Regions from separate parts of the Homo sapiens genome. Here regions 2, 3 and 4 are each linked to region 1. The links are contacts of gene promoters, found by promoter capture Hi-C in human tissues and cell types (Jung and others, 2019). All regions are on one chromosome and are shown on one strand. Each heading gives the region's core, a stretch centred on a gene start or on the middle of the fragment in contact. The rest is flanking DNA. Distances are from core to core; before and after follow the strand shown.

What was found. The method cuts DNA at HindIII sites, captures the fragments that hold promoters and counts their contacts. A contact is called where the count stands out against the background at its distance.
Region 2: a contact is called between a fragment that was not itself captured here and the fragment with the promoter of OPCML in region 1, in 1 of the 25 tissues and cell types used here (dorsolateral prefrontal cortex).
Region 3: a fragment that was not itself captured here is called in contact with the fragment with the promoter of OPCML in region 1 in 2 of the 25 tissues and cell types used here (H1 embryonic stem cells and dorsolateral prefrontal cortex).
Region 4: a fragment that was not itself captured here is called in contact with the fragment with the promoter of OPCML in region 1 in 1 of the 25 tissues and cell types used here (dorsolateral prefrontal cortex).

Annotation. Positions count from the first base shown.
Region 1 is chr11:133,529,612-133,537,321 of GRCh38, reverse strand. OPCML (opioid binding protein/cell adhesion molecule like) reads left to right here and starts at 4,821. Exons shown (of 8, transcript NM_001012393.5): 1 at 4,821-5,058. The coding sequence starts at 4,998. The HindIII fragment of the contact is 11,580 bases long and covers 1-7,710 here.
Region 2 is chr11:133,086,204-133,093,913 of GRCh38, reverse strand. The region is part of intron 1 of OPCML (opioid binding protein/cell adhesion molecule like); the gene reads left to right. Among named protein-coding and RNA genes, the nearest start is that of OPCML-IT1, 280 kb to the left of the region's middle. The HindIII fragment of the contact is 5,557 bases long and covers 101-5,657 here.
Region 3 is chr11:133,144,352-133,152,061 of GRCh38, reverse strand. All of the region lies in intron 1 of OPCML (opioid binding protein/cell adhesion molecule like), which reads left to right. Among named protein-coding and RNA genes, the nearest start is that of OPCML-IT1, 220 kb to the left of the region's middle. The HindIII fragment of the contact is 7,946 bases long and covers 1-7,101 here.
Region 4 is chr11:133,811,391-133,819,100 of GRCh38, reverse strand. No RefSeq gene overlaps it. Among named protein-coding and RNA genes, the nearest start is that of LINC02743, 4.9 kb to the right of the region's middle. The HindIII fragment of the contact is 5,580 bases long and covers 879-6,458 here.

The DNA.
Region 1 (7,710 bases), core at 3,572-6,071:
TATTCAAATTTCGAAGAAGTATCAGAAATAGGTTAAGACCTGAGTCCAAAGGTACAACTCCCATTGTAAGAGAGTCCCTGGGACTTCAGAAGGGCTTACTCTTCTAGTCATAAGCCAGTCATTTAATAAATCATTGCTCCTTTGAACTAAATGACACCTTTGTGGTTTAAAGGAGTTAATGTGCCTTCCAGAGTCTTTAACTTGCTCTCAGGGAATCACTTACAGCTCAGGAGGCTCCAGTTCATTTTGGAATATTGAAAGCTTAAGTGGAAGAGTCAGATTTTAATCTGTAATGTTTTATCATCTTCCGCTTTTTATTTTTTGCAGGCAGCCCCCAACCCTAACAAGTATTTCAGTATCTAAAAATCCATCCTTCCTGTTCCATTGTTGGGCTCCAAGTGCACCAATCCATCATCTTAACACTATTTACTGCAGAGTTTGTCTCAGCAAAAGGTTGGGTGAATGTGAATTGCACTAAAGAGCTGTTAGTGTCCACACAGTCTACTCTCTGCTTCCGGGGTTTGCACTTGCTGCTTTCATCTGCCAGGAACAATCTCGGGCTTTTCCTCCTTCTGGGAAGCTCCTACTGGGATCCCAGCTTAGAAGTCCTGTCCTCAGGGCAGTCTCACACTCTCCCCGTCCCCAGGTGTATCTGTATCTCATGCTTTGCCATAGACCTATATATTTTCTACACACACTTGTCATAAATGTAATCAATTCACGGTTCAATGTTCTCCTCCCCCACTGCTCTCTGAATTTTGGAGGGGTGAGGACAGTCTTGTCTTGCTTTACATTGTATCTCTTTGCATCACATGTAGTAGGTTTGTACCTGGCCCAGAGTAGGTATCTAAGAAATATTTATTGCATGAATGAATGGATACATAAAATACCACAAGGTAATCTCTTCATCAGTGCAGTTCTCTGTATAACAAAGAAACAATATGAGTCAGAGGAAGTCCCTGTATCCTTGCCCAAGGTCATACAGCTGGTGTGAAGGAGCAGGACTGGCATCAGGCAGGAGCACACCTTGGACCCAGGGGGACCTCACCCCTGATCCAACATTCCCATTCCCCATCTGGCCCTAGGAAGCTGGCCGCTGCCTTTGAAGATGTCAGCCCAACACCGCTGTTCCAGAAGAAAGAATCCTAGTCAGAAGTGCAAGTGTGACAGTCAAGTCTCCTTGCACAACTGCCTGGTGTTGGTTGGTTTGTTCCCCCACATTGTTGCTATTTAAATACAGTTTTGATGATTTTGTTTGCTTTGGAAGAAGAAAATAAAGATTCACAGAAGGTATAAAATTGCATATTATTTACCCCAGAGAAGAGAGCAGTCCCCCTAGTAAATATGCATTGAAGCATTTTTATTTGTATTTGTATTTTTTAAAGATGTTTAAATAGACCCAGTAGACCGTAATATCTCTTTACAGAGTTGGTGCCATCTATTGATTAAATATGCATTTATACATTTCTTCCTCTACTTTTTTTAAATAAAAGAGACATATGTTTTAATCATATAATAGACCTAAAAGAATTGATCAGTGAAAATACATATTTATGTGTTTCCTTAAGGAAGATCATATTAGGTATACAAATTTTAAAAATTTTTTCCTGCTATACATAGAAGTGTGTTAAATGTGAATTTAATTAAAAGACTTGGGGTATGTGTGTGTGTGTATGCTCATGTGTGTGCATGTGTGTGGACTAGGAAAAATGTTGGCAGAATAAATGGGTGTTTTTAAAACAAAAATATAGTTGACAGGGAAAGGTGAAAGAATGTAAACTCTGGAGTAAGAAAGACCTCAATTTCCTTGCCACTTATTAGTCTTAGAGGAGGGACTCGAGACTCTCTGTAACTTGTTCTATTTATTTATCTTTGAAATGGGCTAGCAATACAGAGAAAATTTATGAAGTTCCTAGGATTGTGATTGGCCCAAGACAGTTTAATGAAAGTTTGCTCCTGTCTGGCCACTAGCTACCGACTAGTAGTGTGTGCCCCTCTTTCCTGGAGTGGGGTTGGGGCTGCATGGAATGCACTTCCATGTCCTCAGGTGCTACTGCACAGGCAGCGCTGGGACTCGGTCCCCTCCTAGGCTGCCAGTGCTGCTCCTTCTCTCTCCTCCTGGTGGTTAAGAGCACCAGTGGTGAAGGCAGGCCTTGAACCGGGGCTCCACACCCGGGCAGCTCTGCAATGTTGGGGATGTTATTAAAGCTCTTTGAGCTCCAGTCTCTCCCTCTAGTCTGTGTGGGTGATAAATAAATAGGGATTTATAAGGGCAATACCTGAGTGATTGGCATGTGAATATTCAATAAAATGATGGTGCCCAATATGATAATTTCTTCTAGGGAGTCGCTTATTTGGAAACAGAAAAACCCAGGATTAAATTTTGGCTGTCACTAACTAGCTGTGTGACCTCGGATAAATTACCTAACCTTTCTAAGTCTCGGTTTCTTCATCTCTCAAAAAGGCATAATTACACCTTCATAGAGTAACGGCTAGGAATTGAATGTGATAATATTTTTAAAAAAAATCTAGCCTGCAGAGGGTGAATACATGATGTCTATTATCCGTAGAATGCCATCAGTCACTACGTCCTCCTAACTCTTCTGCGTTCCACATACAACCCCCTTCTTTTCCTCTTCTACTGCTACCACCAGTTCCAGGATCTATCAAACTTGGGCCATGCCTACTAACAAGTGTGCTTGCCACAATCCCTCCTGTACACTTCACCCAGATTAATTTCCATAAATTAACTCCCTCTCATTCACAGCGCTCCCCTGCTCAAAAAGAAATTAACTGTTTTTCCCAGCAGGGGGAAATTTCTAAATCACTGGTCTAGGACTCAAGGTCTTTCTCTCTTGGTCTCCCATCTCCTCCCCTAACTCCCCCCTGCAGGGTTTCTACCTGTGTCTGCTCTCTTCCCCTCCATGAGATGTCTATCTCATTTCTGTGGCCTATCTGGTCTCTCCCACAATTTCAAGCCAGTTGTATTCTCCAGCGTATTCAGCCACTGGTAATAATTCTGGATTTCTGCAGGATTCCAGCATTGCCTGAAGGATTCACATATCAATTTGCTTGTGAACGACATGTTTGCAGTGATGAGGTCTACAAAATTTGACTCTAACAGTGTGTACGTGTCCTATTATTTTTATGTACATTCGCAAAGTCACAATGCTAACTTTTGGCTGATCTCCTGACTTATATTGTATGCCCTTTATAGACGAGAACAAATCATATTCTTCATATTCTCATCCCTGAAAAAATGACTATGTTAAGTAGGTACTTCATAAGTGTCAGCGGATGATACAATCATCATCTGTTTTCTCTTTTACTGCTGAAGTTTTCTGACTTGTTCATAAGGAGGGGAGTAATCAATTGTTTTACTTCTTTAAAAGTAAACATGATTTATTTTATAGAAAGAGAGGCGCTCAGTCAGGCCCAAAGAACTTGTTGGCAATTGGCTGCTTTATAAAAACTGTGTGGATTTTGCAGGACAGACCTGGGTTTTTATCTTAACTCATTAGCTGTGTGGCAAGTCACTGAATCGCTGTCAACCTCAGTTGAAAATTCAGGGGTCATAATGCCTACAAGGAAGGACGCTGGTGAGGATTAACTAAAGTGATAGAGGTGAATACCTGCCCATAGTAGGTCACTTGGGAAAACTTTGGGAATTGCAGCAAAGGAGGAAGGGAGAAAGACCTCCTGTGGAGTGTCCCTCACAGACCTCAAGGTGTGGACACGTGGAGCTGGGAAGGAATCCAAGCCACTTGAGGTCTTCGGAGAGCACCTGGGACAGAAATCGTCTGCTGAGTCCCTTCTCTAATACTTGGTGCTATTTTGATCACAGACCCTCCAAGTTCAGGGTATAGTTCAGTGGCAGCACCACTCAGCCAGCAAGGTGTGCTGCTTACAAGCACGTGTTAGGGAGGGCAAGCAGGCCGTTTTAGAGCAGGGGAAAGTTCTGAGGTTTCTTACACCCAGAGATACTGCCATCCTGTGTAAACTGCCGGTGTAAACTGCCATTCCAGAGGAAGGGACAGACTGGACCCTGAAAAGGAGAAGCAGAAAAAAAAAAAACAGAAGGAAGCCACAGGTATCCTTCTGTGGCCTTCTCCTTGTGAAGATTTCCGATGACTTCAGCAAGTTTCCGCCTCCTTGAGATCTAATCTGAATCTGTCCCTGCCTATGCTGTAATCATAGCAATTGTTTGAGCTTCTATAGCATCTTGCCTTGGTAGAGTTTCAGAATGCTCTGATTGTGGGGAACTGGCCAATTCTCCCTGCATCATTGGTTTAAAACCGTAACATGCCCATCTCCTTACTGGGAAAACCAACTGCTTCCAAATGCTGTTAATGGCCGAATGGAGGGGTAGGGTGCAGATTTAAATGTCTGAGCTCTCCCCGTGGGTAGCAGTTCCTGCTCCATCCCTGCCTGGAGACTAGGAAGAAGGAAGAATGATAAGGAACTGGCATGGGCATTAGTCACATTTCTGCCAAGCAACCTTTCTTTCTTGGTGTGCCCTGAGCCCTGCTGGCAGTGCCAGGCCCTCTCCACTGCCCACCAAGGAGCTCGTGTGTGTTCACGTGTCCACGTGAGCCCCACATCAACATACTCACACAGATAGCAACACGCAGGGCTGTGCTCCGGTGAGGGGGTGAGTGAGGGGCCGGCTTCGACTCCCCTTGGAGTCAAGCCTTCCAAGCAGGAAAGTCTCCTTCCGTCGCTCAGGAGAGTGGAGCCAATGCGTGCCTTGGAGGACTGCTCTGAGCCCTGTGCAGATTGGTGCTGATGATTCTTACCAGTTGTGTGCAAGAAAAGAAATCAGAGACGCTGCCTGCCTGCTCCCATCTCTCGCGCGCTCTCTCTCTCTTCTGCTCTCTCCCTCCCTTTGCAAACATTGGATTTAAACCTGCTCAGAATTCAGCACAGAGGAAGGCAGCAGCGGTAGCAGCAGCAGAAGCAGTAGCAAGCCCGGCAGCTGAGAGCACCGCAGCGTCGAGATGTACCATCCTGCCTACTGGGTCGTCTTCTCGGCGACAACTGCCCTGCTCTTCATCCCAGGTACCGTACAGGGGAAGGGTGTTTTCTCTCCCTGGGGTGATTGTACGACGTGAGAGCAGGAGAGGCAGTGGGGAGATGGAGAGGCAAGGAGGAAGGGGTGAGGACAGGGAGTGTGAGATGCATGTGAGTGAAAGAGGTAGGCTTGCTGTGTGCACGCACACACACACTCACTCGCTCACACGCGCGCAGATGCTTTCAGCACGGGATTTGCTCTCTGTTCCGGGGGATCCAGTGAGCTGGGTTCGAGATCTGCACCATGCTGTGAGGCACTGCTGTTTCAGTGAAAGTCACCAACTGGCATTAACCAGCTGTGGTCCTGGGGGTAGGAGAAGAGGGGTTTGAACTCCCAGCCATAAATCCTTCTTGCTGCCTATGTTGGGACCTGCAGGGTGGAAGGGGCACCCTCTTATCTCTCTCAGTCGTGGTGGTCTCTCTCTGTTTCTGAATCAGTCCAGATCTCTGCGCCTCCCTGTCTCTCTCTCTGTTTCTTTTCTCTCTCTCTCTCTCTCTCTCTCTCTCCCTCTCCACCTCTCCCCACTCTCCTCCTCCCTCCCTTCCTTCGGAACTGCTCTCCCCTACCCTCTCCCCCTGGAGCTCCTTCCCTGCCCCATCCCTCCTTCTCAGCTCACTCATCTGCTCCTGCATTTCTTGTTGTAACACAGGCCCTCTACTGCCTGCCGTCCTTTCTTTATCCTTCCACCAAATGGGCAGATTATGCCCTTGAAATTCGGAATCCTCTCAGTATCTCCTTCCTGTTCCTTACGTCAGGAATATGAATTTCCCTTGGCAGAATTTGGGATGTCCCTGCTGAGGGAAGGTTGGAAATTTGGATTTGCCTGATTCTCCCCAGCCCCTTCCCCACCTTGTCTAATGATTTAAATGTGATCCCACCTCTCACAGCAGTTATTTGTTTGGGGAAAACAAATCTGCAGTGACACAGGTAAGATGCTGCAATCCTACCAAAATGAGCTTAGCAGAAGCGTTGCAAAATTGAAGGCATCTTAATAGATTTGATAATTGCACAGGAGTCCTTTGCAAGCAGACAACTGAATGCCTGCAGGCATCTTTCAAACAATGCCGAAGGGGCTAGGTTATGCTTGCCAAGGTTTTAGGCAGCAGCAAAAGTGTCGGTTTTCATACCAAACCGTCGCACAGTCAGGATCTCTTTTTTTCCCCCAAATTGAGATAAATGCATTGTGTTAAACATTAGCTTAAACCTAAATTTTCATACATATATACACAGACAGGAATGCTAAGATTTTAAAACCTTACCTGCCTTTTTATAGGTAAAACATACAGTTTTATGTTTCTATATTCAGTATTACTTGGTAGGGTTTTGTGGGAATATTTTCAGTGTTGTTTTTAATAATATAATTCCCTGAGTAGTCCTAAGATGCCAAAGTGAAATCAGAAAAATGGAAGTTTACTGGGGAGAAAGAAGAGAGGATCAACTAAAACAAGTAATCCAGCCTGTAATGTTTTGTAACACCTTGTGAAGATGGCACTTTTTAAAGCAGGGATGGGCTCTGCATAACCATGTTCCCAGCTGTTTGTTTTAGGCTGACCAAGAAGTTCAGAGTGGGGGTTGCTGTTGTTGTTATTCCAGATTCCAGCAGCATCCTAGGGGGTCCAGCCTGGGGGCTGTGCTCAGCAGGGAAGGCAGAGCCAACGGAACACTCAGTACCTGCCTGAGCCTGGTAGAGGGAGCTAGGTGGGTGCACTGGGTCCGTGGCAGGAGAAGACAAACTTTCCTGCGTAGGCAAGTCCCCAGCTGGATGGCAGCTCCGGGGGGCCTCCTCATACCCGCTTCCCCTCCTCTCACTGTGCTGGAGCAAAGATCAGGACCCCCATCCCAAGGGAATCCTGGCTGTATGGATGCGCCCCTTATGGCAGAAATCATAACATTACACTTTAGAAAGCAAGGCGGGGGGTGAGCCCCAGTCTGCAGAAGCTGCATTGCAGCGCGCCCTGAAGGAGCCAGGAGCCAGGGTGAGACCTCCTTCTAGGGGTCCCGTGGCACTGCACTGGTGGGGAGCAGGCAGAACTTGCTTGCAGGAGAAGTACCCGAAACTAAAGCCGGCTGAGGGAAAGGAGGATGAACCTGCACCCCTGCCTGACCGTCCTGAGCATGGTGGATGAACGACAATGACAAGCTATCCCCCCCACCCCCCTGCCCCCATCTTCTGGGGGAGAGCAGGGTGTGGACATCACTGCAACATGCCCTCTTTCTGAAGAGTCTGTTACCTGCTTTGAGGGCTACTCTTATGCTAATTGTGTCAGGAGCCCGGTAAGAACAAGAACGGGGAGGAGAAAAAGTTAGCCTTAGAAGGTGTCGGTGAAAGAACGCTTCGCATCTTGAGGGGTTCCTGTGGGAAACCTGGCTGGATCCGGAAGTTCTGATGAGCTGCCATGGCTTACTTGCGACTTCTCCTTTCTCTTTTCTTTTACTTCCTGTTATAGCTTTAGACTTTTTTTTCTTTGTTTCAAATGATGATGCTTTTTCTCCCACAGGGATTAATACCAGCTCGTTAGCCACTTACTTTCACTGCGTCTAAAAACCAAAGGCTGATGTAATAATGGAACCTTGACCTGGTTAGGCCTCAATGCCATTTTATTCTGCAGCTTCTATTTCTTGGTAAAACATGTATCCAT
Region 2 (7,710 bases), core at 1,630-4,129, 440 kb after region 1:
AGATTAAAATTAAGATTTATCTATTCTGTTTTTCAAGTGAATTGAATTGACTGATGTGAATGCAGAGATGACATTTGCATCGTGCTGCCTTCTTTTCCCACTGCATTACTCTGATGGCTCTTGTTTAAAAAAAAAAATAAGTACAGATTGCTAACCTTAGCATGAAGAACCTACACAGTCTATATTCAACGTCAGTCAGACACATCACCTGGAGAAAAAACCGTCTACTCCAGTGAACCTGTATTGTTCTAAGCTACAGTTAATGAATGCCTACCACTCACCTGCTACTGGCTTTTGAGACAGACCAATATGGGCTTGAATTTAGGCCCCATTTTCTGAGAGTAATACCAATTTCATAGATCACTATGAGCATTAAGTGGAATTCTAATCATAAATTACCTACGTTTGTGCTGGGCACATAACAGTTGCTTGATAATTATAGTTACGGGGAGCAAGGGGAGGGAGAGCATTAGGATAAATACCTAATGTACGCGGGGCTTAAAACCTAGATGATGGATTGATAGGTGCAGCAAACCACCACGGCACATGTATACCTATGTAGCAAACCTGTACATTCTGCACATGTATCCGTGTATCCCAGAACTTAAAGTAAATTTTAAAAAAAAGAATGAAAATGGAAAAAAAAGAACGATACATTGGATTTGGGGGACGCAGGGGAAAGGTTGGGGGGGTTGGCAAGGGAGAAAAGACTACACATTGGGTACAGGGTACACTGCTTGGGTGATGGGTACACCAAAATCTCACAAATCACCACTAAAGAACTTATTCATGTAACCAAATACCCCTGTTCATCAAAAACCTATTGAAATACAAAAATTAATAATAATAATTATTATAGTTACTATGCATTTATCAAAGATTTGTGTTCCAAGTTACAGACTCTAATTCAAAGTGCCTAGGAAAATAGTGGGGTTTATTAGATGAACACTGGATATCTCTTATAGGCAAACTATGGGATGAGAATGGGTGCAGCTGGGTCTCAGGGATAACTGGCACTAGGAACTAAATGCTGTTGCCAGAAATCCTCTCTCTCTCTCTCTCTTTCTCTGTCTCTCTCCTTTCTCTTTCCACCATTTGCTCCTTTATCTCATAAAGATGTACCAACCTTCTCACAGAGAAAGAACAAGATAATTAACAGCTCTTGAGTTTTGTTTTTGTTTGTTTGTTTTGAGACAGTCTCACTCTGTTGTTCAGGCTGGAGTGCAGTGGGGTGATCTCGGCTCACTGCAACCTCCGCCTCCCGGGTTCAAGTGATTCTTCTGCCTCAGCCTCCTGAGTAGCTGGGACTACAGGTGCGCGCCACCATGCCCAGCTAATTTTTGTATTTTTAGTAGAGACAGGGGTTTCACCATATTGGCCAGGCTGGTCTCAAACTCCTGACCTCATGATCTGCCCGCCTCAGCTTCCCTCCCAAAGTACTGGGATTACAGGCATGAGCCACCACACCCAGCCAGCTCTTGAGTTTTATTCTGTGATTGACCCTCATTCTTTGTGGTTCTCAGTCTGAAAGTTTCAGGGAAGGGCTCCACTTTGTTGACCTTGTATTAGATGCCCAGCTCTTTTCATCAGTTGCCTTGGTCTGTGCTGCTGTAACAAAATGCCACAGACCGGGTAATTTATAAACAACAGACATTTATTTCTCACAATTCTGGAGGCTGCAAAGTCCAGTAACAAGGTGCCGAGAGGTTGGTGTCTGGGGAAGGCTGTTCTCTGCTTCCAATGTAGTGCCCCGTTGCCTCCTCCAGAGGGATGGATGCTGTGTCTTCACATGGTTAAAGAAATGTAAGAAGTAAATTCACCCCCTCAAGCTTTTTCATGAGGTTGCTAATCTCATTCATGAGGGCTGCACCCTCATGACCTAATCACCTTTCAAATGCCCCACCTCTTACAGCTATCACATTGGAAATTAAGTTTCTGCACACGAATTTTGGAAGATATTCAGACTATAAAATTCCACCCCTACGCCTCCAAATTCATGTCCTCACATGAAAAATATATTCATTCCATCTCAATAGCCCCAAAAGTCTTAATGCATTTCAGCATCAACTCAAAATTCTAAAATCTAAAGTCTCATCTAAATATCGTTTAAATCAGATATAGGTGAGACTCAAGGTACAAGTCATCCTGTGAGAAATTTCCCTCCAGCTGTCAGCCTGTGAAATGAAACAAATTATATGCTTTTGAAATACCATGGTGGGAGGGTCATAAGATAGTCATCCCCATTCTAAAAGGAAGAAATAGGGGGAAATAAAGGGTAGTAGGTCCCAAGAGAATCCAAAACTCTAGGGCAAACGACATTAAATCTTCAAGTTTGTGAGTAATCTTCTTTGACCCTATGTCTCACCTCCTGGACACACTGGTTCAGGGGTTGGGCCCCCATGGCCTCAGGAAGCCTCACCTCCACGGCTTTGCTGGGGATAGCCCACACTTCAGTTTGCATTATTGAAGAGGTGCGTGACTGTGACTTTCCCAGGCTGGCGTTGCACTCTGGTGGCTGTACAGTTCTGTGGTATGGGGGAGACTCATTCCCACAGCTCCACTACACGTGGCTCTAGTGAGGATGCTCTGTGATGGCCCTGGCTCTGTGGAAGTTTTCTGCCTGGGCCCTGAGGCTCTCTGAGGCATCTTTTGAAATCTAGGTAAAAGCATCCATGCCCTCACAGCTCGTGAACTCTACACACCTGCAGAATTAGCACAATGTGGACACCACCAAAGCTGACCACTTGTGCCCTATCAAGTGGTGGCCCAAGCTGCACCTGGGTCCACTTGAGCCACAGCTGGGGAAGCCAAGGAACATTGCAGCAGAATGTGAGAAACAGAGATGTTAGTCATCCCTGGGTCTTCAGGTTTGAGGTCCCACAGGTGCCCTGGGCTTCTCCTTTGAAACTATTCTACCCTCAAGGCCTTAGCACTCTAGGAAATGGCATCACTGATAATCTCTGAAATGCCCTCTGGGTCATTGTTTCATTGACTTGATGAATAGCATCTAGCTTCTTTCTAACCATACTGATCCTTATCAAATGGTAGGTTGGCCATACTCTGGGTATTCTCTCTCAAACACACTTTTCTGTTCTTCACAATCTAGCCAGGCTGAAAATTTTCCCAATCTTTAAGTTCTGCTTTCTCTTTAATTATAAATTCTGTCTTCACTTCATTTCTTTCTTCTCATATTTTCATATAAGCTGTCAGGAGAAGCTGTGCAGCACCCTGAACATTTGCTTGGAGGTTTCTTTTGCCAAATTTCCTAGTTCATCACTCTTAAACTCTGCTTTCCACAGAGCACTAGGATATGAACACAACTCAGCCAGGTGCTTTGCCACTTGGTAACAATGATGGCCTTTCTTCCTGTTTCTAATACATTATTTCTCGTCTCCACCTAAGACCTCATCAGAATGGCCTTTGCCATCTATATTTCTACCAATATTCTGTTCATGACCACTTTGATAATGTCTAAGAAGATTTAGGCTGTCTGTAAAGCTCTTTTCTTCTGTGCCCTCATCATAATCAGTCTCAATGCTCTGTTCATACCCATCTAGGGTTTTTTCCTAGCATGCATCTCAAACTCTTCCAGCCTCTGCCCATTACCCAGTTCCAAAGCCATGTCCCCATTTTAGGTATGTGTTGCAGCAGCACCCCAAATATAACAGAGACAAGCAGAGATTTTGAGTTGGCAGGCGAGGTAAGGGAGTGGATGGAGAATTACTAAGAATGTGATTAGGTATCTAGGAGGAGAAGCATGTCTAAGTAGTAAGGGCGGAGAGGATGCTCCATAAATGGGCTCAGCAGGATTCTTGGCTAAAACCGAGCCAACGACAAGGCCTAGTAGAGAAGAGGATTCAGAGGAGACTAAAGTTTCATCAAGGAGACAGTCCTTGTGAATTTACCTGTGTACATTTTTGATATTTAGTGTATCTCCCACTATGAAGTAAGCTCCATTAGGAGAGAACCTGTTAACTTTTGCTCACCATTTTATTCCCAACACCTAGAACAGTGCCAAAGTACGTGGCATGTGCTCAATAAGCATCTGTTTATTAAATCATTGACAGCAGATTTTGAGTGTAATTCCTCTGCTTCAATTTCCTTCCCCAATGTCTCTATCAAACATAAGCCACTGGGTTTTTTTTTTTAGGGGTTGGTTGAAGTCCCCCCTTCTCAACAAATCCTTCTCTGATAGTTTCAGTTCCAAATGTATCCCATTTTTCTGTACTTCAGTACGTAGTTACTGCCTGTACCATTTATCAGGGACTTAATCATATTCTTTCTTATTTCTTAATGAATTCAGCTGTGTGACTCCCAGAACAACTAAATTATGTGCCCTTAGAGAGTGGGGACCTTGTCAGAAGCCTTTTGTTTTGCCTTTAGCACAGAGTATGTTGCTATTGCCTGGTAGATGCTCAGCAAATATCTCCAAACGAGTAAGTTAATTCATTAGTTAATACAATTAATGCTTAGCCCTAAAGTGGTTTACAATTAATAAGAAACACAGAATAAATACTTGTAATTTTACTTACAAAAATAACATTTATCTAGGTAAGTAAAATTCTCTTCAAAGAAAATAATCTGGAAGATGATAGTGCTGTTGTTAAAGTGTATTCATTACTCACATTCTCCTTAGAATCTTCTTTTGGCATAATGTATGCCTGTTTTTTTGTCATATTTCCAGATACTATCTGTATATCTCTACTTGTCACATAGTAGCTATGATCTGAACAGGCAATTGGTTCTGCTCACTTACTATTATCAGAAAGACTGGCTCAAGATCAGCTGCTCCTTTTTGGCACTTGCCCTTCAAAATTTAATTGGCTTAGATCCAACGATTCTATATTATGGGTCAAATCACTCCATCACATTGTGATACATTTGGCAATCAGTGTATATCAGCGGGTTCATCTAGAAACTACATTACTTACTATTAGCCATCCTATGGGAACTTTTGGAGATATTTTCATTGCTCTGATAGATGATTGATATCACTTGCTTTGGAATTTTTCTGGGATGAAATTATAGTAGTCATGCTTAATGTGTTAGAATATGGGGACATGATTACTTATTCTCCCCGTTTTAGAAGCACTGCCAAACCTGCCCCCCTCTCAGATGGTAACCAAAACATTTAGACCATTCTGGGTTGGTAACATGAATGACCTGCGTTCCAGGGGTTTGTCAGAAGCATATCTTGTATAATTCTATTGTTCCACTCTCATTTAAAGTCTTGTTGCAGAAAGTTATTTATCCATGTTATATAATTAATCCACTATTTGAATTAAACTGAAACCACCGCATGTTTTAGCTTGATATCAAGTGATTTTTATTGCAATCCCCTTTGGTATTGTAACCCAATTCATTGGAAGCCAATGGCAAAAGAAACAGATGACAAAATTTCTCTTTGATATTGGAAGATATTGGCGAGGGCAGTGTCCACTGGGACTGTCACTGAGTGTGAGCTTGCTGTTTTGAAGGGAATGGCATTCACTATCCCACATCATGGGCACAGCACTCATGGTCACTTGGATCTTGCCCCTTGTATGAAAGAGTTAATGGTGGCTTATGGAAATGATGTAATTTGCTAAATTAACTAAGTTAGAGGCAAAGGTGAAACTACGTGACTTCGCAATCCGTGCTTTTAAGAGTCAATGGAAAACCATGAAGTTTTCTGTCTCAGTACTTAGCAAAGCCGTGGTTCTCCCATGTAAAAGGTTCATGGTTATTTTGTGTACTACCTGCCTACAGTAAGTAATAGTACTCTTTCTCTTTTGTTAATAATGCAAAGTCAAATGTGCCATCCACTGTCAACATTAATATAAGACTTTTCACATGGATTTTGATATGTACTTCTATGCAGTTGTATTTTATTTCTCACCCTTACCTTCTTATTACACACTTTTTCTCATATATTTATTTTATCGTGCTACACAGTGGATACTTTGGCAAGCTGTCACAAATACAATTTGATAATTACAGTTCACACATTTTACTCTGCTATACCATCTCCTAACCGTCTAGTAAGAGAGCTGAGTGCCCGTTTTACAGATGAGGGCTTTGAAGTTTGGGTAGTGTGATCCTATGACTGCTCAGCTAGCCAGTGCGGGAAAGAGCCTGTAAGCATCAGCATTTGCTGTCAAGCTCGATCATACCTCTACAGGGTTCTAGTCAAGAGCAGCATCTTCCAAATACTGTTCTCTGGCACGCTGGCATGTTAGATATATTAATAGATGCTCCTAAATGTTAACTTAAAAATAGTCTGTAGTCATACGTGTTGGCTAAATATCTCTCTCGGGTTGCGACAGAAAATTAATATGTTAAACTCTGTGAAGCAGAGCAGGTTAAATTGATGTTTTATAAGTTTACTTGGTCCAGCACATATTTTTCTTTTCATTCAAAATGCTTATTCATTGAGTCTACATGGACATAAAGATGGGAACAGTAGACCCTGGGGACTTCTAGAAGGGGGATGGAGGGAAGGGCAAAGGCTGAAGAACCCCCTATTAGGTTCTAGGCTCACTACCTGGTGACTGGGTCATTTGTGCTCCAAACCTCAGCATCGCACAGTATACCCATCTAACAAACCTAGGCAGGTAGCCCCTACACCTAAAATAATACTTAAAATTATACAATGAAAGAAAATGCTTATTAACATCTTCTTCAAAACTGCTATTTAAAAAAATCAACTTGGAAAATGTTGGTAAATATAACGATAATGTTGAAAGAGCCTAAGCAGCAATTCAGTCCTAGCCTCAGCTCTCACTAACCAGCAGCGTGACCTTCATTCAGTCACTTAACCTCTTTGGGTCTTAAGTTCGTCGTCTGTTAAATTATAGGTTTGAACTCGATGATCTCAAATGCTCCTCTCAGTGCTAAGATGTTTGATGTTTGACTCTAAGTGCAATCTCATCTCAGGCAGGCTCAAGTGTATACTTAGGTTCTAAGGGTTAATGTAGCATCCAGAAGAATTTTGATTTGAGAATAAGCTCATAACAAGGAAGGAAATCTTGCCACTTGAGACAACATGAATGAACCTGGAGAATATGCTAAGCAAAATAAGCCAGACACAGAAACACAAGTACCGCACGATCTTACTTATATGTAGAATCTTAAAAAGTCAAATTCATAAAAGCAGAGTAGAACAGTGGTTACCAGTGGCTGCGAGTGTAGGGGGATGGGGAGATACTGGTCAAAGGGTACAAACTTTCAGTTCCAATATGAGCAGCTTCTGGGGACCTAAGGTACAGCACGGGTGGTGATGAATGTGTTCCTTAATTTGATTGTGCAGTCATTACACCATGCATTACACCATGCATTACATCAAATCATCACGTTGTACACCTTGAATATATTCAATCTTTATCTGCCAACTATTTCATTTATTTAAGCAGAATTTTCATCTACAGGAAGAAGATGGGGTAAAGAGGAGGACATTTATCAGACAATACATTGACTTTTTATTGCAAACTAGAAATTGAACTTATCTGCATTTCCTTTCTTATTTATATTATTCTCCAAGTTGTAGGAAGCTCAGAGAAAAAAATTGAAGACATAAAAAAGTTGATGTCCCTTGCAAAGTTGAAAAAAAAATCACATCACATTTTATGTTAGGCTTTTAAAATGGGGGAAAATAATTACACCTCAAATTGAGAACATCACTTGACTGTAATATCCCTTTTCAAGCAGATTCTACTAATTCCAGATTTAGAA
Region 3 (7,710 bases), core at 1,879-4,378, 380 kb after region 1:
GTCATCAGATTATAAACTAAATCTCTGTTTCTGTTCCTCAACAACTGTGAACAAAAAAGATGTCATTGTTCTTCATACAAAAATCACCAAAACCCTCTGGAAGGTCAAGAGCTAGAAGCATTCTCTTCCTGGGGGATCCTGCCAAGGCACTCTGAGGAGTCCCAGGTGTCTTGAATGGAAGGATAATGGTTTCTGAGGGCCTGGGGTCTTTTTTCAGCCTTGGGGATCTCAGTTGAGATTTTTGCTGAAATCTAGAGAACTCTAGACCAAGATTCCCACCTCCATCTCCTGCTCTTCTCTCGAGAAGCCCTAACTGATCCCGTGATAGAACACAGGTGGGAACCAGGAGCAGTGTCCACAGGGTGAAGAATAGCCTCTGGGACAGAGCTGTGGAGGGTCAGGGCTTGGGCTGCCAGCAAACCCCAAACTAGTGAAGATGTATTTCTCCTTAACTGAAAAATTAGATTAATCATAACTGCACTTTCCTCATCCAATAATTTTCAGGGATCAAATTTATATACCAAAGCTCTTTTATAAATTCTGGACAAGGTCATATTGATACAGGCTCTTCTAGCTTTTAAAAGTGTGCTTCTTTTTTGAAAAAAAAATACATTCTCTTTTTCCTCCTTCCTTCCTCCCCCATCTTCCTGCATCTCCAGCAGCCAAAGGGCAAACCAGCCATTGCCAATTGTGTGGGAGCCTCTGAGGCCCATTAGATCCTTGTTTTCCTCTTTTAAAGTTTTTTTCTTTTTCCCCTGGGGTTCATGAATTATTATTATTATTATTATTGAGACAGAGTCTCGCTCTGTTGCCCAGGCTGGAGTGCAGTGGCATAATCTCAGCTCACTGCAACTTCCGCCTCCCGGGTTCAAGTGATTCTCCTGCCTCAGCCTCCTGAGTAGCTGGGATAACAGGCGTGCACCACCACGCCCAGCTAATTTTTGTATTTTTAGCAGAGACCGGGTTTCACCACGTTGGTCAGGCTGGTCTCGAACTCCTGACCTTGTGATCCGCTCACCTCAGCCTCCCAAAGTGCTGGGATTACAGGCATGAGCCACCGCACCTGGCCGACGAATTATTAATGTCTCTGAAATAGCTTTGGAGGCCACTCTCTTTCTAGAAGGGTTCCGGGGCAGGGGAGGATGTGGCTTCCTGAGGAGCTCTCAGTCCTTCTCAGCTGCCCTTTGGGTCTGCACATGCACCCATTTGCTCAGCCCTGTGGCCATCCCACACAAGCTGACCACTTCTGCAGTGTCGGAGCTGGAAGGCACACTCATTTTTATGACCAGGTCTACAAGGTCCATTAGAGAGATTCCTGCAGGTTTCTTTCCTGGGGAAAGAAAAGAGAGAGGAGGAAGATTTTGTAAGATGCCAGGGCACCTTTGCCGACACTGCACAGTGGGTGCTGGGGTGGAGTGGGGTCTTATAGTGCCATGAGGCAGCCTGCATCCCACAGTCAGGAAGCTATCAGGACAGTAAGGGGCCAAGGCATCAAGTGGCTTCAGGTTTTAGAGGACACTGTAAGGCAGCATACGGTGCATGGATTCCGAAAACAACAGCCATGGGCTCAAATTCCTGCAGCTCTAATTTTTACAGAGGTGGCAACTGAAAACAGAGGGTTCAGAGTCCTGGGTTGAAACCCCAGCTGCACCATTTCGCACCTGCATCAACTCAGGCAAATTTCATAACCTCTGGAACCTCAGATTCTTCATCTGCAAAATGAAGACGATGACAGAAGCCCTCAGGGCTGTTGGAGGAAAGGGTGAGACCATCCATGCAAAGGGTTTAGCGCAGTCCCTGACATGGAGTAAGGGCTCGATACACATTAGACTTTGTGATTATTACTAGCATGCCCTAAATGGGCACCTGATATATCTGGAGGCTGTGATTCCTCATTTGTGGAGAATAAAGACACAGAAAACATGTTTCCCAAGACCACTATTTAAGGTTTAAATGAGATAACAAAAGAAAACTGCTGTGGCCTGGGCCTGGCCCAGAGAGAAAGGAGTGAGTGGAGGTGGGCAGTGTTAATCAAGGGATGCTGGCTGGAGCCCTCTGTAGGCAGGGACGGAGTTCTGGGAGAACACAAGCACCAGACGCTTCCCCTCCCCAGTGCTGAGTACAAGTGCTCCGGCCTCTTGAAGAGTGATAGTGACTCAACTCTGGCATAACCACCTCCCTGCTCCCAAAGCAGGCTCTACTTTTATCTCCCCAGACGATCCTCCTGTGAATGGTCAGGCTTTGGATCCAAATTGGATGTCTGCTGTTGAGAATGAAGGATTACTGAGCTGATGGGATGTGCCCAGGGTGGCCTAACGGTCAGCCAGACACCACATGACAAAACAGCAGCAGCTTCAGTGAGCCAGCAGCACCATCCTCAACTGCACATGCTCTAATAACTAATTGGACAAAGTTTCCACAGCCGATTATCAAGTCAAAAACTGATATTTCTTCTGTCTCTGGCAACATCAAGCGTGCGGGTGGGGGTTGAGAGAATTTGGAGGTGGCAACCGACTTATCAGGGACACACTAAATGGTAGAAGGGATGGAAAAGAGGAGATGTAAATTGTATGTCTTCTTTGCAAGTAAATTAACTTCGTTTTACTTTAAGTGGGAAGCCTAGCAGTTGCCTGGGGCCTCTCCTTTTACTGGCTTAAAGAGGCAGGCTAAAAACAGTAGGAAAGAACATTTGCAGGGGGAAATATATGGGTGATATACTACAATGTCAAATTGGAAGATTTCCTCATATCCACAAATCAGGATTCATCTGAATCTCCCGTAGGACCTGCTCCAAATGTCGTCCGTTACCAGTTCTTAATTTATGTTGCCCCATTTGCAAGTATCATGGTGCGTAACAAAGTTAGGACGAACAAACCACAAAACCTAAATAACAGACCTTCAGAGATGAAGAGGACAGCCATCAATTTAGATTTTTAAGCTGCTAAGTAGAATTGAGGTGGCTGTCTGGGTCTGTTGCTTTTCCCAGTTCAGAGAGCAGGTGAAGTGTGGTGTTCAAGGAAGGAGGGGAAGAACGGCTGGCAGTGGGTGAGGGAACTTTTTCTCCACTCTCCTCCTCTACCTTAACCCCTCTCTCCTTCTCAAGACTGAATGCATCAGCCTGCTTGGTTAATCAGGACCCTAAATCCTGAAGTATGGTGGATGCTGCCTGCCCAGTCCATCACTCTAAGCCTTCCTTCCTTCCCTTTTTCAGCTGTCATCTAAGGCAGCTTCCTGAGTGCCAGGGTGGAAAACATGCTGTGCTCAGAGTCAGAATCTGAGTTGGGTCTCTCTGATCCTGGACAGCTCACTGAAACTCTGGACCTCGTCTCTGCCATTTGTAGAGCTGGGACACCAGAACCACTTCCCCTCCTCCCCTGGAGGGCGGTGGGATGGAGCGAGCGCTGAAGTGCGCATGGATGTTTCAGTTCTTCGCCCCCTGCAGGGCGGTGGGATGGAGCGAGCAATGAAGTGCACATGGCTGTTTCAGTTCTTCACCACTCCTCTCTTCTGTCTACCCGAAGGCCAGTCTCCTGCAAAGTGGACAGAGATTCCAAACCAGTGCCCAGGGCTGTGAAAACCAACAGCCAGCGATACTTCCCTCCCTCTTGTTTCAGAGAGGTTGGAGCCATCATTTCCATTTACCAACGCAGTAAGAAGCAGATATCTGGAGGCGACAGGGGAGTCTGCATGGATTGCACGTTCCCTCCAAGTTTATCGTCTCTGGCTGTGAGCTCTCAGTACAAATTATCTGATCAATGGCATGAGGGAGCAAGCTTGGTCAGTGTTAGAGTAAGGCAGTGGGCAAGCCTCACCTCACAGTACCTGGGCCACAGGAGAGAGGCTACCTCGTGAGGAGCAGTAGAGGAAATGGGAGCTCTCAGTGGATCTTCTGAAGGGAGGAGGGAAATGAGACCTCTGGATTCTATAGGAGTTTAGCATTTTGAGAAATCCACTTAATTTTCTCCTGAAAGGCAGCTATTTGGGGGCAGACAGTGGAAAAGCTGGCTGTGTGGCTGCCTGGTGGCCCCAGGGTGACATTCTCACCTTTATCACCATGGCTTCCCAACATCAGATGGCAGCTGGGGTGGGGAGGGATGAGAGATGGGCAGGAGGAAGAAAGCGTTCGCTGAGTAACAACTGCAGGACGGGCAGTAAACGGGGCAATTTTGAGTTAAATGCCATCATCATTCCGTCTTTGCAGATGAAGTAACAGAGGTTATGAACTAGCTGAGTATGCACAAGTGATGAGTAACAGTGTGAACCGGTGAATTCCTCAAGGACAGGGATTCTATCATTTGCAGTTTGTACAACCAGGACCTGTCTGCTCTGGTGCCTGGCACTCAGTAGGGACTGATTTAAAGGGGGATGTGGTGAGATGGGGAGCAGGGCGGGTTACATCGGCTTTTGTTGAGCCCCTGTGAAGTATCAGGCAGAGCCACCCATCCCTTCTGTGTATTACCTGGTTTAATTCCCAAAACATCGATCCCAGGTAAGCATTCTTATCCCCATTTTATAAACCCACACATGCTTGCTAAGGTCAAAGTCACTGCTGCTTACCATCGAAATTGGCCTTTTTCTCGCTCAGAGGGTAGAGTCTTCCTGTTTTGAAGCGGGTAGGGCTTTCTCCGTGTCCTGTCTGCTCAAGATGCACCTCCCAGATGCCAGATCTGCACGCTGGGCCTAGCTTTCTCCTTTCTCAACTTTGGCCTCCAGACTATCAAAAGTGATAACTCCTCAAATCTCCCATGACCTACTGCCTCCCTCGTCTTCTTTTACCTGCCTCTCCCCTTCTGAGTGGTCAGCAGGTTTTCTTGTTCCTCTGTGTTGGTGAGAGATGCTGCAGACAAAGCCTGCGTGTAGAAAGTGGCACTGCCTATCAGCCTTAGTGATAGGAACACCCCCCTGAAGAGCTATTTAAAGTTGAAGTGATCAGAGGAGGCGGCAGCCCCTGACACTCAGGGATTGGGTGCCGTGCCCTGTTGCTGACTGAAGGAGTTCTGTTCTTTTAATATTTGATGGGGCTGCCTTGGAGACATTTATTTAAGCATGCTTCATTCATTGGAGTCTCCTGCAGAGGGGAAGCTTGCAGGGGAAGGCACCACGGCTTCTCAGTACTCAGCAAAGGTCAGGAGGGGAATAGCTGATAAATTGGACAGCTCTTTTTAGAAGTGTAATCTCAACTGTGTGTGTTTTTTCCCCTTGTCCACAGTGAACATGGGCTCTAGCCCTGTCATGTTACTGGGCCTGTGCTGGGGGGAGTTCCCTACTTATGCAAGAGACAGATGAGGATAGGAGATAGAGGTCCCGGCGTGGTGGTTCATGCCTGTAATCCCAGCACTTTGGGAGGCTGAGGCAGGCAGATCACCTGAGGTCAGGAGTTCAAGACCCAGCCTGGCCAACATGGTGAAACCTCATCTCTACTAAAAATAGAGAAAAATTAGCCTAGCATGGCCAGGCACGTTGGCTCATGCCTGTAATCCCAGCACTTTGGGAGGCCGAGGCGGGCAAGTCACAAGGTCAGGAGTTCAAGATCAGCCCTGCCAACATAGTGAAACTCCGCCTCTACTAAAAGTACAAAAATTAGCTGGGCATGGTGGCGGGTGCCTGTAATCCCAGCTACTCGAGAGGCTGAGGCAGGAGAATCTCTTGAACCCGGGAGGCAGAGGTTGCAGTGAGCCAAGATTGTGCCATTGCACTCCAGCCTGGGCGACAAGAGAGAAACTCTGTCTCAAAAAAAAAAAAAAAAAAAGAAAAGATGGAAGATAGAGCATGGCAGGGAACATCTCCACACTCTCATTGATCATGACCTCTCCCTCCCAGAGCTCCAAGCATCAGCTCACTCATCATCCCTGTGTCCTTATCAAGAAGACCATTAGTGGGATTAGTAGCCCCATTTCTCTTTTACGCAGCCACAGTCCCACAAAGGCTGAGTGATTTATCTGGCAGCACACAGTACAGGCACAGTAAGCCTAGAGTAAAAATCTCAGCTCTTAGAACTCTAGTCCCTCGCTTCAATCATGGATCTATGCTAGCATTTAAAAATGGAAATAATAAGACATTATCACAGGGCTACCATTGTTAGAAATGTCTATGAACATCATTAATACCTTGTAAGGTATTCGCCAGTGTAAATTCATTCTCTCTCCTCCCTTTACTTTTTAAATGACACTCTCCACTTCCTGTCATCATGGTTCCAACTTCCAGATCTTTTGTTTGCTCCTTCCTCTCTGTTGTCTGCGAATTCACTCAGCAACCACAGCCTGCCCATTGGTTATACCTTCCAGTGCTGACCCCTCCGGCACACAGCTGAGGGCACAGCACCAGCTCAGGGCCTCATGGCCATGTCCCCACCTTCAAATCAGTCTTCCTACCTCCACGCTCTTTCTTATCCAATGTGCCTTATGTACTGCCGTAAGGGTTACCTTGCTTCTTTCTTTTTGTCCTGCCTCTCCTGTGTTCACAAGCTGTGGGTGGCTCTTCATTGCATTCAGAAGAAAGCACAAGTATTTAAGCCTCACATTTGAAGTTCTCAACACTGTGACCTTATCAAACTTTCCAGGTTTCCTTCCAGCACAACTTTTTCTCAACTGCTACTCCTATCCCCATGCCTAATTTGCTTGCTGACCAATTTAATAATTACCTTTCTCTGGTTTACCTTTAAGAGGTTCTGTCTTGCTACAATTGCCTTTTCTACCTTCTCCCTTTTCTATAATTGCCAGTCAACATTGCATCTAACTTGCAAAGCTTCAGTAAATTTCATCTCCTCGTAAATGTCCTGTGATATGGCCACTCTCCTCCACCTTGATAAAATATGTCTTTCTAGAACATTTCCACAGCACCCTGCCTCAGTTATAGCACTGTCATTAATCGTAGTCAGCCCTAGATTAATTAATAGTAGACAACTTTATCTCTTTATCCCCCAAAGAATCAGGTAAGCATACATGATAAGTCCAAAGCATATTTGTTTAAATGAATTCTCACCTGGTCTCACTCGCTGCCGTTTTCTGCTGATTCCCACATGCCACCTGAAGACTCAGCTCCCATCTGGCCACTGTTGTTGCTAAGAGCCCAGGTTACCTCTTGCCTAGATGCCCACAAAGTAGCTGCTTTCTGCTTTCCAGAAACTTGAATTAATTCGCTGCTCGGCTGTGCTAATTTCACTTTGTCTGTCACCCAGATGTCTGTGTATTGTTTTTGATTCATTGCTTGAATTTGGATCTATAGCTTCTGCTGTTTTACTAGAACATGATGGAAATATCTCTTAGCTACCTGTTACCAAAACACATGTAAAAAATAGCTTCTTTTGTTAGAATATAGACACTTGATCACTTGTTTCAATTCATTTGAGATAAGACTGGATATAAACACATAAAGATAAGGATGGATATACAAGTATAGGAAGTCAGACCATAATCAAACTCATCTAATCACTTATGCACTCGACAAATGCTTACGAAGCTTTGACTGTGTGCTGGCCAGCGTGCTAGATGCTTCCCATGTGCCGAAAGCACAGCTGAAGGCTTCCCTGGGCTTGTAGGAAAGACACTCTTGATAGGTTCTCACAACTCACAAATCGAGTCCATCCCTCCTTGCCATCACTTCTGGATGGGGAGGAATTTGAAATGGATACGCCAGCTGCCTGAAGAAATAAAACATTATTGCTGAAGAGGGTCAAAAGGCAACCCTCTAAACAAAAGGGGCAAGGGGTTG
Region 4 (7,710 bases), core at 2,419-4,918, 280 kb before region 1:
CTGGAGCAGACAGGTGCAGCAAGAGGAGGGATGAGGGAATGGGAATGCTGATAGGGTGAAGTCACTAGCTAGTCCTACTGTCTCTCCATCTCTTCCAACAGGACCACTTTCAGGGCCAGCAGAGATGGGACTAGACAGTTGCATTTTGAGTGTGTGTTTTATTAATGAAGGGCGAGACAGCAGAGGAGATCATAATGATATCATAGTATGTCTGATCTAATTATGCTAATCAATTTTTATGGCTCATCAGAGGGAATCCCGATGGGCTTGTGTCAGGAATTCCCCAGAGATCTGGAGAGGTTGCTCCAAGACTTGGAGGGCTGTTGGGAGGACATCCCAAGACTTTACAGAGTTGGGAAGCTTCTGTGGTCCCAGGCCACCATCTGTCCCATCCAGTGGAATGGCTGGGTGGCGGTGGGTGGTGGTGGTGGGGTGTTGCCCTGGGAATTGGGGAAAAACCTCCAAAGAGAACGGATCTGGGAGGGACCAGGAGTGGAGAGGTGGGGGCTGCCAGAGCTTGTGACTCCAGAAGGAGCAGCGGAGGCTCCCGGGTGGGTAGGCTGCTGGATGCGCTGTGTGTGTGGCTCCTGGCCTACTCTGGTGGCAGAAACTGCAACCTAACTGCATACCAGAGTCCTGTGAAACAGGGGCCTTGCCCCGTGCAGATTCATCCACCATGTCGCCTCCCGCTGCACTCTGCTCTCTTCCCACCCATAGACTTTCGAGCACACGTTTAACCCCACAGATTTCATTTCCCCTGCGTTAGCCTGAGAACTACCCAGTTCCTGAGCCGTCTCTGACCTACAGGGTTAGCTTTGGTTCTCCAGCTCCACTGTGCAGTTTTCCCTGTGTCTTCAGTTCTTATCTTGCTTTCCTTCTGCCTGGCTCTCCTTCCCCAAGGACTGTGCCTATTTTCATGGCTGGTCTAGACTCCACTTGCATATGGGCAGGTAACATATTGGTTATTGAAGGCATTCTGGGAAGACCCCAAGATAAATAATCCTCCTTTCACCTCATGCCTAAAATTCCACACGTCATTTATTTATTTGTTTTGGCTTAAACTGCAAGTTCTCGTACAGAGCCCATCTTTCCTGGGCGTGTGAGGGAGGGTGTATGGCGTGCTGTGCTATCACCCATCATATCTGCTGGGGGAATCATTTCCAACCCCTTTCTTGAGGGGAGTTGTTGAGGGTGGTAGGGAGAATGGTGGCCACATTGTCATATTTTGACCAGCACTGCCCAGAGCCGTGTCTCCCATGGTCACGTGTAGGACACACCAGTGTATCCCTCTGTCTTTGTGCAGCTGGGTCTGCCGACTCTGGGTTTAGGGCCTCTGGGCAGAGCACACGCTGTCCCTGGCTGGCCTCCGGTCTTGCTGCTCTGCCGGAGGCCAAGCTTAGCAGGGAAGGGCTCTGAGACAAGCATGTGCTGACTGGGTGGCCCAGAGTGCCTCCTTAGGGCTGGTGGCCTGAGTCTCAGGGCTTTGGGTGCAGGGGAGTAAGGAGAACAGGGGTGGAGCCGTGGGTGTGGAGAAGGCAGCCACAGTCTGGCAGAAGCTAGTTTGTGAACATGAGGTATATTCCTACTGGGGCCCTGGGCTCTCTGTTGTTGAAGTGTGGGGCTCAGAATTTATCGCCAAGAGCAGTCATTGGCTGTATTAGTTTTCTATTGCCGCCATGACAAATGATCACAAACTGAGGTCTTAAAACACAAACCTATCATCAGACAGTTTTGTAGGTTGGAAGTCCAGCTGAGCTAAGGTCAAGGTGTCAGCAGGGCTGTGTTCCACTCTGGATTCACTTTCTGCATTCACTTGCCCTTTCCAGCTTCTGGAGTTCTTCAGCTCATGGCCCACTTCTTCTGTCTTCAAAGCTGGCAACCTTGCATCTCTCTGACCACATCTTCCTTTGTGACCACAGCCGGGAAGGGTTTCTCTGCTTTTAAGGACTCATGTCATTAGACAGAGCCCATCTGGACAGCCCAGGATAACTCAAAGTGCTTAACCTTACTTACAGCTTCAAAGTCCCTTTTGCCATGCTAGGTGACCTATGCACAGAGTCTGGGGGTTTGCACGTGGCTGTCTCTGCTGGTACACTATTCTGCATACCACTGTAGTAGTATCTAGACAAGCCTGAGCAAGACCCTAGGAATGAGCTGCTGGGAAGGCCTGGCTCCCACAGAGCAGGGACTCTGGGACGGGGACAGTTAGGGAAGAGACATAGCGTGATATTACTGTGACTGGACTTTCAGCCTTGCTTTGGGCAGTGTGGAAGTGTGATGGCTAGATGCTCATAAACTCATTTCTTCTTCCCAGGGGCACAGCTGACATAAGCCTTCCTTATAGTTGTGTGGGGCCACAGGACTGAGTTGCGGCCAGTGAAATGTGGGTTGAGGTAAGGCGTGCTACTTCCAGGCACTGACCATGTGATCCTCCACACTGGCAGGATGCACAAGACCCAGGGGAGGCTGCTGAGCGCTGGTGATGGAGAATCAGCCAGACAGAAGACATCTGTGTGGGAGCTGTGACCCTCCCACACGTGTGGGATCACAATATGAATGACCACAAGACTCTATAGTGTTAAGCCATTGAATGATGGGATTCTTAGCTACCGGAGTTAGTCTCCCCAGAATAATATAGATATTGATGCCAGAAGTGGGTGCTTCCATAATAGAAATGCCTAAAACATGGGATATTGGCTTAATAGTCAGGCTGTGGGTGGTGAGGAGACACATCCAGGAGGCTGGAAGGCTGTCAAGCCCTGTGTTGTTGTGGCAAAGTGTTTGGTAGAACTTCACAGTGATGATCTGGAAGGGAGACCATGTGCCTGAGATTTTAGCACTAGGGGAAGTGTTTAGAAAATAGAACATTAGCAGTGTGTGTATATTTATGTGTGGTGGGCTTCTATTGTCTGCCTTTGGCAAAGTATCACAAGAAGAAGGAAGTTAGGAAATAATGAGCTGATTTAAAAGTAATATAAAAAGGGAGTAAGAAGAATGCAAAAGTGTGGTGCCTCAAACATGTTCCAACTATTATTGCTGTGTAACAAATTACCCTAAAACTTAGTGCATAAGCCATTTCTTACACTCCTGGCATCTGTGCATCAGAAATTCCAGCAGGACACAGCAGGGACATCTTGTCCCCGCTGCACAATGTTTGGGGCTCTGCTGGAAGACTTGAAGCTGGTGACTGGAATTATCAGAAGGCTGGTTCACTCGTGTGTTTGGCAGCTGATTCTGGCTGTTGCCTGGAGACTCAGTGCCTGTCCACATAGACTTCTCCCTTTGGTCTCCCCATGTGGGTTCATTTGAATTTCCTCACAGCGTGGTGGCTGGGTTGCCAGGCAGAAGTTCTATCACTTTACCACCTGGTCTCGGCAGTCAGGTGGTGTCACCTCTGCCTGATGTCAGTTGTTATTACCAAGTCACTAAGGTCAGCCCATATGCAGAGCAAGGGGAATCACGCTCCACCTCATGGTGGGCTGAGTGTCAAGGCTCTGGGAGAACACGTGGCGTTGGCAAGATTGTTATGGCCATGGCCCGTTTTGGGAAAATCCAGTCTGCCCCAGAGGGGTTGGAAAAGCTGGCTGCTTCCTTAACAGTAAGGGATGGGATTGAGAAGCATTGAGACAGAGACCCAATAACATGTTTCGATTGAAGAAAGTGATTTAATCCTGTAGCAGAAGGTTAGACTGGGATGCAGCTGTCCCATTCAAGCCTACTGTTCCACATAGTCTCAAGACAGCCGCTGAGAACAAGAGAGGTGGGAGGTAAGGGAGGAGACAACGAAATCAAGCACATCTTAGAATTATGTCTAGGAAAGAATCTTGAGAGTGTTTGCTTTGCAAATGGAGCTGCCTGGAAGCAAATGGATCAGACATGATTAAGTTTTTGAGTTCAAAAGGTCCACTAGAGGACTCTAAGACCCTACAAGATAGGGGAGCCAGGGATGGAAGGAGCCCAGACCCTCCTGACCCCCACACCTGCTCCTAATCATCCCTACTGGTCCACAGTAGACTGGGATACGAGCAAGAAATAAGCCTTTGGGGTTTCTGTAAATAGCAGTTAGTCTACCCTGACTAATACAAGCTGTTTTCCTGGCATATCCTTTGAAGGAATAGTAAATAACATTTGTAAGTGAGTCCACTTCTCTAATGGCCTGGCACACCAATTCCCTGCCTCTCCCACTCCCGCCAGCCATGGCTGATTACTTCAAGGATGTAGAGATGACAAACCAAGCCAGCCGGATTACGGACCTTGGGCATTTGGAATTGGGAGTTTAGCAGGCTGGTGTTTTGCATTTAGGATGAGATAAGCCCAGTGGATCTGGTGGGCTATGCAGCCGCTGCCTGCTGCTACACACAGAAGCAGGGGCCTGGGCTGCAGAGATGGCACTGCTGAGCAGATAGAGTGAGAGGACGCCATGCCCTGGGGTGTCAGGGAGGCGTCCCAGTGCTAGCCTGTGTCCCAGCTGTCGTTTCTTGGGTTCTGTGAGGTTCCTGAGTCATCTGATGGATTCCCTCTGGCCGAATCTAGTTTTAGTGAGTTTCATTTATCATAAATAAGTGTTGATTGAGACACAAGCAACAAAGAAGAGTGATCATGATATTTTGGGTGGAAAGAGGTTACAAATAGATTGTACATTATGATTTTGAACTTGTGACCATAATTATTATATAGATATATAAGAAATGTAGAGTAGACACCAACATATAAACAAGGGTTATCTCAGGAGCTGGAGGAGAGTATAGGTAATTGGTATTTAATTTTTCCTTTTTGCTGAGAATGTATATTGCTTATATTGCTTTAGTAATCCGAAAAAAATCAGGTTTCTTTTATATTATAGATTTGGGGGTACATGTGCAGGTTTGTTACAAGGGTATATTATGTGATGCTGATGTTTAGGGTACAACAGAACCGTTCGCCCAGGTACTGAGCATAGCACCCAAGAGGGAGTTTTTCAACCGTTGCCTTTCTCCCTTCCCCCTCCTCTAGTAGCTCCTACTGTCTACTGTTTCCATCTTTATGTCCATGAGTCCCCAGTGTCTAGCTCCCACTTACAAGTGAGAACATGTGGTATTTGGTTTTCTGTTTCTGCATTAATTTGCTTAAGACAACGGCCTCCAGCTGCATCCATGTTGCTGCAAAGGACATGATTTCATTCTTTGTTATGGCTGCATAGTATTCCATGGTGTATGTGTACCACATTTTCTTTATCCAATCCACCACTGATGGGTGCTTAGGTTGATTCCTTGTCTTTGCTGTTGTGAACAGTATTGTGAGGAACATATGAGTGCATGTGTCTTTTTGGTAGAATGCTTAATTTTTTTCGGGGGGTATATACCCAGTAATGTGATTGCTGGGTAAAAGGGTAATTCTATGTTTAGTTCTTTGAGAAATCTCCAAACTGCTTTCCACAGGGGCGGAACTAATTTGCATTCCCACCAGTAGTGTACAAACGTTTTCTTTTCTCCACAACTTTGCCAGCATCTGTTATTTTTTGACTTTTTAATAATAGTAATTGTGACTGGTGTGAGATGGTGTCTCACCGTGGTTTTCATTTGCATTTCTCTGATGATCAGTGATGCTGAGCGTTTTTTCATATGTTTGCTGCTTGTATGTCTTTTTTTGAGAAGTGTCTGTTCATGTCCTTTGTCCACTTTTTAATGTTTTTTGTGAGTTGAAAGTCAGGGATTTTTTTTTTTTTTTTTTTTTTTTTTTAGATGGAGTCTCGCTCTGTCACCAGGCTGGAGTGCAGTGACATGATCTAGGCTCACTGCAACCTCAGCCTCCCAGGTTCAAGTGATTCTTCTGCCTCAGCCTCCTGAGTAGCTGGGACTACAGGCATGGCCACCACACCTGGCTAATTTTTGTATTTTTAGTAGAGACAGCATGTCATTATATTCGCCAGGCTGGTCTCAAACTCCTGACCTCATGATCCGCCAGCCTCCGCCTCCCAAATGAAAATCAGTTTTTAAATATATGACCTACCTGAAAAGGAAACTGAGGAACACAAAACAAATTGAAAAACAGTTGGCAGATTTCTGGTTGGCAGGCTTTCACGTGGGCATGTCTCCCCTTGTAGAGGGGCCTTGGGTTTCCCATTCTGCACCAGCTGTGAGCCTCATTCAGTGGCCCTCTGTCCCTGTATTCTACCACAGTTCAGCTGGGCTGCAGACTCTAGCTGTTAGGAAGATAAAGACATTTGCCTTCTTAGGACTGGACCTCACTTCATCTGTGGCAACTTGGCCTCTTGGCTACTCGCTGTGGTCACCAAAGGTCATTTTGGAAAATCCAGGAGACTTCCCCTGCTTTTGTCTTTCCCCAGCTCTCCCCCTTCCCTGGCCTCTTCCCATTTTCCTTCTGTTTTTACACTGCCAGCTCTGAACCCTGGAAGTTCTGCTCTCTGGCCCAACTGGCTCTGCTGAAGGATAGCTGGCTAGCTCTTAGGGCTGGCTTTTACCTTTGTGCCTTTTGAATTCTTTAGCTTTTGTTTCAGCCTTGTCCTGTCTGGCTTGGATACATCTTCTTCCCAGGAGCCAGTTGGCTTGGATTCGTCTGATTTCCCAAAGCAGAGATGATTGGCCCAATTTGGCCCAGTGAATGTCCCCTCTCTTCCTATCTGCCTCTGAGAGCCATGATACTTCAGAGTGCTCAAAATCTCATTGCAAAAGCAGCGTAGTGCAAACTCACAGCAAAAGGAAGATCCAGGCCATGAGCAACAGACCCTCTCCTGGCCGGCTCCCTGAGCTCCCCGCCAGGCTCTTCTCCTGAAAGGACACGGGTAGTCTCCCGGCTTCAAAGGATTTAGGATGTCTGCCAGAATGGAATTGTCCCAGCTCTGTGCAAAATGCTGCTAGTTGAAAACTCCTATTTTGAAAATGCTGATGAAATTTTCATTTTATTGTTTGTTTTAATTATCGTCCTCTTATTGCCTTGCAGCAATGTTCTCTCCCCCTTGCAGGAATGTTAGTGCAAACACAGCTGCATCCTCGGGCTCCTGCAGAAGGGGCCTAGAAGGAGTGAAACAGACTGCAGGCAGGAAATGAGTTTGATCCGAGCTGTCTGTGTGGGCCCGGGGTTTGGGAGTGTCTCCATGGTGAGAATGCACCAGCAACAGGAGTAGGCCCCCCTGTGGGACATTGTCACTGACCAGTGCTCTTGGGGCCTCCCTGTCCCTTCTCAGAGATGACTGTCCTTGATGGGGAGGTAGAGATGTGTTTTCAGTCTTCTTTTTGGGAGATGGAAGATTTATTTAGGAAATCAGAAGTTGCAGCTGAGTAGGAATCCATAGTTGATAGTCACTGAAGCACACTTCGGAAATGACTGGGTTGCTTTAAAGGATATCTGTGTTTACACCTGAGGCATTGTGTATTGTTCATGAGGATGTTGTGTCACTTACCAGTCAGGATCAGCAAATACGGCTTTCTGGGTCTTGTACCTGTGTAGGTCCTAGTGATGCACTGCCTCACCTGCGCAGGGCAGGCTTTTCAGATCTTCTGCCTATCACAGGGACGTTGTGGAGAATACAGCAGCTCTCCCAAAACACAAATGTCATTGATAATAACAATTACGAGCCTAAAAACCTATAAACCAAAAGAAGTATTATTCCACTCCTACCCCTATTTCCATCCCAGAGAACCAAGGTGCTAAGAAGTTAAGTGCTACGTTTAACGTCACAAAATAGCAGAGTCTGGAGTAAAACTCATGACT